Linked DNA regions of Homo sapiens: region 1 is linked to region 2. Evidence: promoter capture Hi-C in 16 types of primary human blood cells and fetal thymus (Javierre and others, 2016). All regions are on one chromosome and are shown on one strand. Each heading gives the region's core, a stretch centred on a gene start or on the middle of the fragment in contact. The rest is flanking DNA. Distances are from core to core; before and after follow the strand shown. Region 1 overlaps TMEM72-AS1 (TMEM72 antisense RNA 1). Region 2 holds the start of LINC00619 (long intergenic non-protein coding RNA 619).

Region 1 (5,333 bases), core at 1,412-3,911, 1.0 Mb after region 2:
CAATGCTGACGTTTCACACATCTTGTAAGAAAGCCCTTGGGTCTGGCCAGGCCCGGGTGTGGACAGGGATGCTCACATTGAGCCTGTGGACACAGAAGAGTCTTTATTCGGGCAGACTCTTGAGCCCTTGTTCTGACTGAGCCTATTGGTGCATTTGAGGGGGGTTGGGGGGAGTGAGGATTTAAAAAAAAAAAAAAAGGTCTTGAGGGATGCTGGGGAAGGAAGAGAAGCCAAGTGTCTGGATGGTGTGACCCCAGACTGCAACGCTAGAATGACTCTCAAAACATTCTCCTTTATCAAGGAAACAAGAATGTGAGTCACTCTCTTCCCGCACCCCAGGGGTTTCTTTGCTGAGCAGGGCTGCAAACTGTTCAGCTAATTAGGCTGCATCCTGACCTTAGCCTCCATCCGCAGCAGGCCTCCCTTGAGGGGAGCCGAGGTGCTGCTGCCACCTAGGGTCAGGAGAGTGCACTGCAGGGGGACCGCAGGGCCAGGAAGGAAAAGTCAGGACCCTGAATAAAAGGGCAAGTGGTCCCAGCATGGTTCCGTTTACAAAGAACTTCCCATCTACCACTGCTGGGCTCTTAAAAGAATCCCATGAATTCAGCAGGGCAAGGTTTTACTATCTTCTCTTTACATATAAAGACGCTAGTGATTGCATGGCTGAGGACGGGGGTCTGGGACATTACGAACTCTGCGGCAGAGGTTATGGGTAGACTGTGGGAATTCTTCATGAGGGTTTTTAAAAGCTATTGCTGGTGTAAGTTGGTCTGTAAACATCCTTAGGAAGAATTGGAGAGCAAATGAGTCATGGGGTCCTGATAACTGCACTGAGCTTCACTAAAGGCCACAGGGTCAAGGGCTTAAGAGACAGAGTGAGGGCCACTGGGTCTCTTAGCCCATCATCAGGGCCCCCATTGTCTGCCGGAAGATGCCAGCAAACCCACCATCCTCGAGGTGCTGGCCAGCCCAGCTAACAGTCAAAAAGGAGGAGGATGGTGATAGATAGAAATGTTATTTTGTGTATTTATTTCATCACAACCTCAGGTACATGACTGCTATGGGCTGAATGTTTGCATCCTCCTGGAGTAGGCATGTTGAAGCCTAACCACGATGTGATGGTATTTGGAGGTGAGGACTCCAGGAGGTGATGAGGTCATGTGCCTGGAGCTCTCATGATGGGATTAGTGCTCCTATAAGAGACCTGAGGGCCAGGTGTGGTGGCTCACGCCTGTAATCCCAGCACTTTGTGGGGCCAAGGCAGGTGGATCAGGAGGTCAGGAGATCAAGACCATCCTGGCTAACATGGTGAAACCACATCTCTACTAAATATACAAAAATTAGCCGGGCGTGGTGGCACAAGCCTGTAGTCCCAGCTAGTCGGGAGGCTGAAGCAGAAGAATCACTTGAACCCAGGAGGCAGAGGTTGCAGTGAACCAAGATCACACCACTGCATTCCAGCCTGGGTGACAGAGCAAGATTCTTGTCTCAAAAAAAAAAAAAAAAAAAAAAAAGAGAGAGAGAGACCTGAGCTAGCTTGCTCCCTACCTCCCTGCTCTCCCTTATGTGAGACCACAGCAAGGTGCCATCCCAAACCTGAAAAGGGCCCCCTACATACCACATCTCCCAGTGCCTTGATCCTGGACTTCCCAGCTCCAGAACTCTGAGAAGTAAATGTCTGCTGTTTAAGCTTCCCAGCCTAGGGTGTATTTGTTACAGCAACTCAAGCTGACTGAGACAGTGACTCACCCTCTAGCCTGTTCTGCAAGAAGGAGAATCAGGAGTTATGTAGCAGGAACACAAGGGAATAAAATCCTCAATATTCAGTTCTTCAACTTCCAAGCTGGGTCTTGAAATTCAAATATTAAACAACAGAGAGAAAAGTCAAAACTTGGAATTTACCAGAGCCAAGTTGTGGTAAAACAATTTGGAATTCTAAAGGTAAAGCCCCAGGGAAGTGGGGACTACTTTTTCTTTCACAGATTAGAAAGAGAAAAGAGGGTTGGGGAGAAGAGATGAGTGTCAGTTGCTAGAACTGGGAGAAGTGGGGAGGCTGGGGCCTGAGGCCACGCAGAGAGAAGGGTCGTCACTGAAGGACTCCCCAGGCCCTTCCATCCCAGCGCCCTGAGCCACTAAATCAATCGCCTTTTGTGAGTGGCCTTGCAGGTCTCCTGTGTGGGAAGCCAAGTGAGCTGAGGCTGTCACAGCCATCAAGTGAGGTCCACGCAGACATCGTTCTCTGTGTGCTGCACAGGGACCAACCCGCAGATGTGACTCCCCCCAGTACCCATCCACACAATGCCATCTACCAAGCACCACTTCCAACTCTCACAGATGCCTTGGGACAGAGGCTGCTGTCTCTAACACCTAGAGGGACTGTTCTTGCAGTGTCTGTGTCGCAGGTACTGGACAACTTAACATGAGTGTGACTTAGTCCCATCACTGTCATCACCATACTTCGTTTTATGGGTGAGCAACAAGACCCTAACCTTCGTGACTTCCACTTGGTATGGAGCTTAGAGGAAAGTGACAGGGATGAAGGTCTCTCCTGTCCAGCCCCACCATCTTCAGGAATTGGGGGCTTTCCCTCTAGCCCGCCTTTGCCCCTCTAAGTGATTGACACACTGCACTTGCCTTCCCATCCAGGGGACCCCGCTGGGCCAGGTGCCATTGTCTGCTGTGACCCTCCCCGTGTGTGTGTGTGTATGTGTGTGTGTGTGTGTGCAGGGTGTGTGTGTGTGTGTGAGCATGTAGCTGTAAATAGTACTTTCCTGATTTAAAAATGCCAGGAAAATCCCAAAACACAGAGATTTAATGTCCGTTTATTCCCTTGGGGCAATGTTGCCTCCACTAAAATGGTAAAGAAAAAAATGAATGATAGAAAGAACTCATTGTGTCAGAGGGGTACTCGCATGTTTGCATTTTTACCCTCTATTCTTTGCCACAGTAGGAACTTGCTTTTTTCTGAGTGTACACACAAACACACACACACACACACACACACACACATACTCAGTGCTGTACTAGGCTCCTGCTGACTGTCCTATCATAGTGTTTCCTACAGAACCATCTCACGTCTCTCTGGGCTGATTGTCTTCTACAATCAATAAATGGTTCAAAGACTCACAAATTCTGTAGATGGGCCTTTGAAGAGGGCTGCACAGTCTCCCAGCTGACCTCAGGATGAGCTTCAGGCCATGTGAATGAGAAAGTGCACAGAGGCCCCTGCAGGGACCCTGGTGCCTGACGCTTCCCCCAGAGCCAGGCTGCCCAGGTCCCAGCCTTGTAGCTCACAAGCTGTGCGACCTTGGGCAGGTGCCTTTCTCTTTCTGAATCTCAGTTTCTTCCTTGGTAACTGGAGATGATATTAAATAGCACCTGCCTCCTAGAGTTGGCGTGGGATTAAACAGTTAGAACCAGAACAGTGTTTACAGCAGCACCTTTGGTATAGCAGGGCAGGAGCTCCAGATCTTGGTCCTGAAGGCTCAGGCCCTGGGGCCTGGAGACTAAAGCAGCATTCAGAGCTTTATGACCACAAGTAGCTACGCTCCCGCCTGAGCCTGTTGTCTGGGCCTTTGGTGTCTCTGTGGTTATGTCCCTCGGTCCTGATTCCTTTTTTAGGTTTCCAAGAGGAAGCTTCTTGTTGAGCCTGTGAACCCTGACCTTGGACCCCTGCTCATCTGGCCCACCCGGACGCCACGCCTGCTCTGTTTGGGGGTTCTCTCCCATCCCCACCCTTGCTTGGCAGCTGCTCCCATCAGACAGGTCCTCCTGTTCATCCCCAGACTGGGAGTGCAAACCCTGCTCAGGGCTCCTGTGGCCACAGGCACCCCCAAGGCAGAGAAGGAAGCCAGGAAGGAGAAGGCTCTGCAAACTCCTGGAAACAGTTAAGAGATGAAGAAAATTACACCACTTGAACTCTACTGGCCAGAGTCCTGGGAAAGGCAAACTCTCCTTGGGCCAAAGTGGAGGGAACCACCCCACCCCTCCACAGGCATCATGAACATGGCCCATTGGAATGCGCTGAGATTCACAATGACTTGATAAGGATCTGGGGGCTGAAAGCTCAGCAGGATGACTCTGAGCTGGACCCAGCCCCACCCTGGCGGTCCCTGCCACACAGCAGTCAGTTTGGAGCCACGTGGCTGCCATTCCTGGTGACTTCCCAAAGCTACTGCAACTTTTTAAAAAGATAAGCACATTTCCATGGTGTTTTTAACATCCTTTAATGGTTTTCAGCTTTCTTTTCAATATATAATTACTGAAAAAATCACTATGAATAATAACCAGAAACCACCAAAACCTACATGCAAAGTAGTATGCTAAAAACTTTACTCATTATCTTGTCTAATGTTTCATAATCTGCATGAAGCAGGTAGTACTGTCATCCCCACTTTACAGAGGAGGAAACTGAGGCCTAGAAACAGGCACACAGCCAGTAAGTGGCAGAGGCAAGACAGGAGCCCAGCTCCTTCTCCACCAACTATTTTGCTGGATCATCGTCATCATCAGCATTTTCTGGTGCCTGCTACACCATCCTCTGCTTCTCAGGGACATGTCTGAAGCCACAGAATCACTGTCCCTGCCGGAGGCCAGATTAGATTCAGCCCGTGCGTAGCTCACATTCTAGGGTGTCAGAGGGAGTGTCTTTCTCCGTCCTGCAGCCACAGCCATCAGCAGCACTCTCTCTCTGGCCTCCCAGGGCTTCCTCTAAGAAGCCCCCACGGGCACTGCAGGTGGCTGGCCTCCAGGAGCACACAGCTCTCGGAGTTCCAGGTGTTCCCCTGAGAGCAACCTGCTTGGGCACTGCAGGCTGCTGGGGTTGCCGGTGATGACTTCCTTTCCATTTCTGTTCTCGATGTCGTGAGGCAGTCTTCCTGATCTCTGCTCCCCAACTCCCTCCCATGGTTGAGAAGGCCCTGGCTCTCCATATTAAATCTCTCTCTACTTGAAATAGCTGGAGCACTTCTGCTTTCCCACGAACCCTGACCAAAGCCTCCCAGCCCCAGCTACAGCTGACAGGCTCAAGAGCACCACAGGCTCTCAAGGCTGGCCTGGCTCCTCCACACACAACCCCTGCAGATCTCTACTCACTCCAGACTCCCCCTGCCTCTGGCCAAGGCCCTGCCTTCCTGCCTTCAAGCTGGGCGCCCATTTCTCCAGGAAGGCTTTTGTGACCGGGCTTCATGTCCCTTGCACCCTGTGTATTGATCTTCCTGCTTGATGCCAAGCCCTATGAACACAGCAATTCTATCTGGCTTTGTACACTATTGTACCCAGCACAGGGTCTAAAAATACTTTTTGCATAAATGAATGAGTAAATGAAAAATTAT
Region 2 (5,697 bases), core at 1,513-4,012:
AGCAAGGAACATGGAAGGATCAGGAAATGGATTGATGGCCAGGCTGGGGGCGGAAATGCCAGGGAACGTGGGAGCTGGTGGTGCCGTTTGCTGCAGAAGGAAGCACGGGGGTTGGGCAGGGCATCGAGAGGGAGGAGTCTGGAGCTAGAGCAGCCTCATGCGAAGGATCAGGACAGGGCAGGTGGGAGCCACAGACCTTGCCACCACTGGGTTCTGGGGCTGCCCCGTGAGTGGTTCCCTGCATATGGTGTGAGAACCGGGGAGGGCAAGAGCCCCAGAGCTGCCAGGGCCCGTCCTCATGGAAAGTGGCTGTGCCAGTGGCTGCCAAGGCCAGAACTTCTTCCAGGAGACACTGCTGAGGAAGACGAACAGAAAGAATGAATTAGTGTAAGAAAAAAAGGAAGAGCAGCAGGAATGAATGGAGGAAAGAAGGAAGGAGGAAGGGGAAGGGACTTGGACTGCTTCTTATGGGCTGGGGGAGCTGTTCGTGTTATATGTCCCACACGTTATCTTATTTACTCCTTGGGGTAATCTGACATTTTTGCCTTCATTTTAAAGATGAGGAAACAGAAGCCTCATGGGGGTAAGCAATGGCTGGGCCAGAATCAAACCCTGGCAATGGGACTTGTGTCTCTTAGCTCCACTGCCTCTAAATGGAGATATGAATGAAACGTTGGGGGATAGGATGGACAGCATGCTCACTTACTGACTGCACGTATAATAACAAGGTGATTGTGTTCTGAGTGGTCCTTCCTGGATTGATCTGTGCTGTCAGAAGTCAGGACAGGGGCTAGCCCTGGAAGATGTGGGGGCCAGACACACAGAAGCCTTCTGTGGCATGAGTCACATGTGTCTCAAGCTGGATGCTGGGGGCTGGGCCTGTGGTAGGGGAAGCTTCTATAATGTAAATCTGGAGTCCTACAGTCACAGCATCTTTGGGTAATTGAGACAAGGGCTGATGCAATCAGTAGAATATTAGAATGTGTCACTGAGTTAATGGACACAGTGTGCCTGGAATGCACATCACCCTAAACCCGGGGATAGATCCACTGCCGTGGGGGTGGAATCTGTTAGAACTCTCCAAGCTCCATGGGGCTCGAACTTCAGTGCCAAAGCGGGATGGGTTTGTGGCTTCAGCTCTCTGGGACACAGCTGCCAGCCTCTCCTTGTCCAGCTGGCTTCTTGAAGGTTGGGATCGGAGGCTCATCCATGCACAAGAGCTTCTGGACACAGATTCTTTGGCTCCAGTCTTTGGTTCAAACAAAAGGCATTTTCGTAAGCCTCTGTCTTCTTGCCCTGCTTTGAGCAAGTTCAGTTCAAATTCTGAGTTGCTTTTGGCTCTGGCCAAATTCTGCTGTTCTTGGAGGTTTGCTTTGTTTCTTTTTGATGCTCTACAAGTCAAAAATTGCAACATACACCAAGGAGAAAACATGTGGCGAAGACAATGAAAAACAGATCCGGGCCTGCCAAAGAAAGAGGTGGAAAGACAGAACCTGTCAGTTCCATACATCGTGCAGTTCTGGGTGCTCCACTCCAGAGCAAATGTGCTGGCCTGTGGATGGAATTCTTCCTGAGTGAGCCCTGCTTTTTAGATCTGGGTTCAATAAAGATAATTCTCTTCATCCAGTGTAATCTTCAAGTGTTCCATGACTTTTTTCCCTCAAGATCTTTCACCTACTTCTTATAAAAGCAACTGAATGTTGATTTAGGTTTGGGCTGGCAATAATGATGAAAAGTTGGTGACTTGGGGCTCTATGTTCAAAAACCATCTGCATCTCACCATTGCGAGGTGGACTTGTGAATTCCTTTTTTAGTCATAAAAAACTCACAGAATTCCATGAAGGGAAGGAGCCAAGGGGCCCACCTCTCACAGAGGCTGCTGTACCAGGCGGGTAGATGATGACATTCTCGAGGGTTTGCAAGTGCTGCCAGTCTGTGAGGCTGAAGGGTGTCCACAGGAGGAGGGGGCCCTGTGTCTGCAGGCTTGTAGTCTCCAGTGAAGCAACTCAGGGAGATCCTGCTCCACATCAGAACAAAGGCTAGAAACAGGAATTTCTGACTCTGAAAATCCGGATTATAATTATAGTGGAGTGATTGAGAATACCAAGAAGTGATTGATTCTCAGGAGGTGGAGGATACACTTTCACAGTTAATACAGCATGACAAAACAAAGCAAAACAAAAACTAACAACCTTGCCCTGTGGGGTAGAAACAACAGAATTATCCTTCCTAACATCCTTAATTTTAAATTATATATCCACATGTATACATATTAGCCCATTTTTTTTTCTCCAGAAGATTGTTAGTTCCCTGAGGGTGAGGCCTCTTTTTCTTTTCCCCCCACTTCTGTTTTCCAGCCATTAGTACAGTTCCTGGAAGATTGTATCTTGACAATTTATGTAGTCATTTATTTATTTGAGTACTATTTATTGAAGGCCTTCTATCCAGTGAACACTGTTCGGAAGAATATCACAGTGAACAGAAGGGACAAGAATTCCTTCCTCCCAAGGCTTACATTTGAAAGGCATGGGAAAAACAAAACAAAAAAAGAAACCAAATAACTAGAAGGGATTGTGGTGTAAAACCTAAATCATAACCAAGGGAGGGGCATGCAGGTCACATTTTAGTTGGCATGGTGGTTACTTAGTCTCTGAGGTCATTAAGTGGCCTGTGGTCTGAGGCAGGTGCAACGTGAGAAATCCAGAGAATCATGAGGGGGTAGGGCAGGCTTAGAAAAGGGAGAATCTGCTGCCAGAGAGGCCAGATGCCATGAGTCCAAAGGAATCATCCCGCCCCCAGCAGACAAGCGTGGAGCCAGCCTGCTCCTCTGGCCAAAGCATTCCACCCCCGGACCTCTCCTCCAGGTACTTCCTGTCCAGACGGGCAGTGGCCCCAGAGCCTGGGAAACCTGCCCCACAGGTGAGGGCAAGGGGTGTGTCTGAAGTGGGTGAGAGGCTGGTATGAGCCTTGGTTGCTGCTCTGGAAACAGGAAGAAGAGATGTGGAAGAAGAGATGTGGGTATGGTGGATTCTGACCCTTGGCTCCCCAAAGTTCCACAGGTATGTGCAGTTTATCGGTCTCATTGATTATTAAGTTCTGTGGGGGAACGGCTCTGTCAACATCGTCCCAGAGACATCTGTTGATGCCTTAGTGTTCCCTGCGGTCAAGGTGCCTGCAGTATGGCGGAGGAGACTCATGCAGAAAATCAGAACTGTATTATCTTAGTGCCAAAACAGAAGTGGGCATTTTGACATTGCAGTGGCAAAAGGAGGACATGGTCAGCTACAGGTGGCTATCTTAGTTTATTAATAGCAAAATATTAAAAAATATTTTAAAAATTATATTTGCCTCCCAGTGGAGGGTCTTGGGTAATTGGGCAACCCAGTGCTAAAGATAGGACTGGGACTTTCATCATAAACCTTTTATACATTTGTGTTTTTTGACATTTAAAAATCAGAATATTTTCAGCTTAAAAAAAAACATAATAAGCTTCCATAGTTCTTAGAACTGGGACTGTCCACATCAGGAATACGTGATTTGCAATGCCAAGAAAGATGTGCTGAATTTATTCGGCAAACTAAAGAGAAAATAAAATTTATTTGAGTATTTAAAAAAACCCAGGAATGAGTGCTATGCATGCCACACACTAGCATGCCAGATAAAACAGATGTGGAGTCAGAAACTGAATGATGTGCCTCTTGACCTTTGATTTGACCTCTTGTGCCTTTGATTTTGTCATGTGTATATATTACTTATTTAAGAATTATTCATGTAATTGTAAAAGTGGATGAGGAAATGATGTAAAAACAGCTACTCCTTGTGGAAGGTTGGCCTTTGTGCTAAGTGCTGTTTGCTCCACCTCATTCCTAGAGCAGGGAGCATTTGCAGAGGCTTGGGAGGGAGTGGACGTGTCCCTGATGCTAAGGGCAGAGGAGGAGCGGGGCCCTCGGGCAGCTGGAAGGGCATCCTGAAAAGACGCCTGCCTGCCGCCGTTCTCCTGGCAGCAGGGCGCGCTGGGAAGCACCAGGCAGGAAGTGAAGAATTTCCGGTTGTCAGCGGAGGGATGGGGCGTCACCAAGTCTGTGGCAAGCACACCAAGAACCAGCTAAGTCCAAGGCTCACCTGCATGGCAAATGGTGAAGGTAAAGTCCAGCTGCCAGCCCAAAGTAGAGCGCTTTTACAGCAAGCTGCTCTCAAATCATTTCCAAAATCAAAGTTGCTGTAGCTGCAGTCAGGGAACTTCAACAGGATGTGGGCCAGGGGTAAGACAGAAGCATATCTTTACCTGGTTCTCCATCTGGGAGATGAGCATCCCGAGGGAGAAGGACAAGACACCTCAGTAAGGACTGGTGCTCAATGTGTCGGGGCGTGGGGGGCGTGGGGGGCGTGGGGGCTGGGTGGGTGGGTGGTGAGGAAGCAGGAGGGGCCAGATGGAGAAATTCGAATTGTTCCTTTTGCTGCAGACAATAGGAGCACGATAAAGTTTTCAGCAGGGGAGCCATGTGATCACATTTCTGCTTTAGAAACAAAGGGAAGAGCTCAAAATCCTGGAAAGATGATATCTGAGCTGGAAGCCCTCATTGAGTTCTGACCCTCTCCTTGTGAAGCAAGCAACTTGCCAACATCATCAAACCCTTCATTTAAACTCAGAAGAAAAACAAAACAAAGCAAAACAATGCAACCCCCAAACCCTTCCTGTCATTGACCCTGGGTCACCGTCCTATTTCTAACAGGCACATTTTAATTACTGGCAACTCATTTTCTTGATTGGGTCTCTACAGCAGGCTGGAGTCTTTACTCTTGAAGACGCCCTCCAGCTCTGTTCTCTGGTGTCCCACTTTTTTCTTTGCTTCTTAAACTGGACCAACCCAAGGCAAAATTGTGATGCTGGTAGCACTTATTTTTTACTTCCTTACTCATACTACGAGAACATCTGAATTAAATCTGAATTAAATTATTTACTTTAGTTATACAATAAAGTTTGGTAAAAGCAAATTATAAAAATGCACACATAGGGTGAAAGACTTAGGGTTACATATGACTGGCCTCATCTCTTAAATTAAAATACTCTCTCCCAAAAGACCTAGAGAGGTTACGTGATCCTAAACAACTAGCTGGTAGCAGAGTTAAGGCTAGAACACCTAGCTCCCAGTGTTCCTTCTCTTCTATTGTGTATACTGGCCTATTCTTCATTACATCTTTATTTTGGTATTTATTAGAGAGTATTTCTTCAGCTATTGCTGCCTAGAAAACTATGCAGAAACTTAGTGGTTTAATAAGAATTTATTATCTCCCATTGTTCTGTGGTTGGCTGGGTGGTCACAGTCATATGTTGACTGGGGCTGTATTCATCTGAAGGCTCAGCTGGCCTAGGCACCCTGGATGGCTTGCTCGCCTGGCTGCAGGTTGATGCTGGAACTCATGCATAGACTTAGACATAGACTCTTCATGTGGCATGGGTGCCTCACATCATGGCAACTGGATTCCAATAATGAGACTGCCAACAGACCCATGCAGAAGCTGCAAGGCTCCTTATGACCTGGCTTCAGAAGTCCTGTAGTTCCCTTCCGCCACATTCTATTGGCCACGCAAATCCCCAGGACCAGCCCAGATTCAAGGGGAAGGAAATCAGAGCCCACTTCTCAATGGGAGACATGACAAAGGAGGCCATCTTTAATTTGCTACAAGGAAAGTGGA

What was found. Contacts are between HindIII fragments. The CHiCAGO score rates a contact against its expected background, and 5 or more counts as called.
Region 1: a fragment that was not itself captured here is called in contact with the fragment with the promoter of LINC00619 in region 2 in 2 of 17 cell types (endothelial precursors and fetal thymus); the score reaches 5.8 in endothelial precursors.

What each region holds. Positions count from the first base shown.
Region 1 is chr10:44,857,487-44,862,819 of GRCh38, forward strand. The region is part of intron 2 of TMEM72-AS1 (TMEM72 antisense RNA 1); the gene reads right to left. Among named protein-coding and RNA genes, the nearest start is that of TMEM72, 51 kb to the right of the region's middle. The HindIII fragment of the contact is 1,946 bases long and covers 1,689-3,634 here.
Region 2 is chr10:43,842,544-43,848,240 of GRCh38, forward strand. It overlaps LINC00619 (long intergenic non-protein coding RNA 619), which reads left to right and starts at 2,763. Exons shown (of 3, transcript NR_033923.1): 1 at 2,763-2,864; 2 at 2,990-3,059. The HindIII fragment of the contact is 2,595 bases long and covers 893-3,487 here.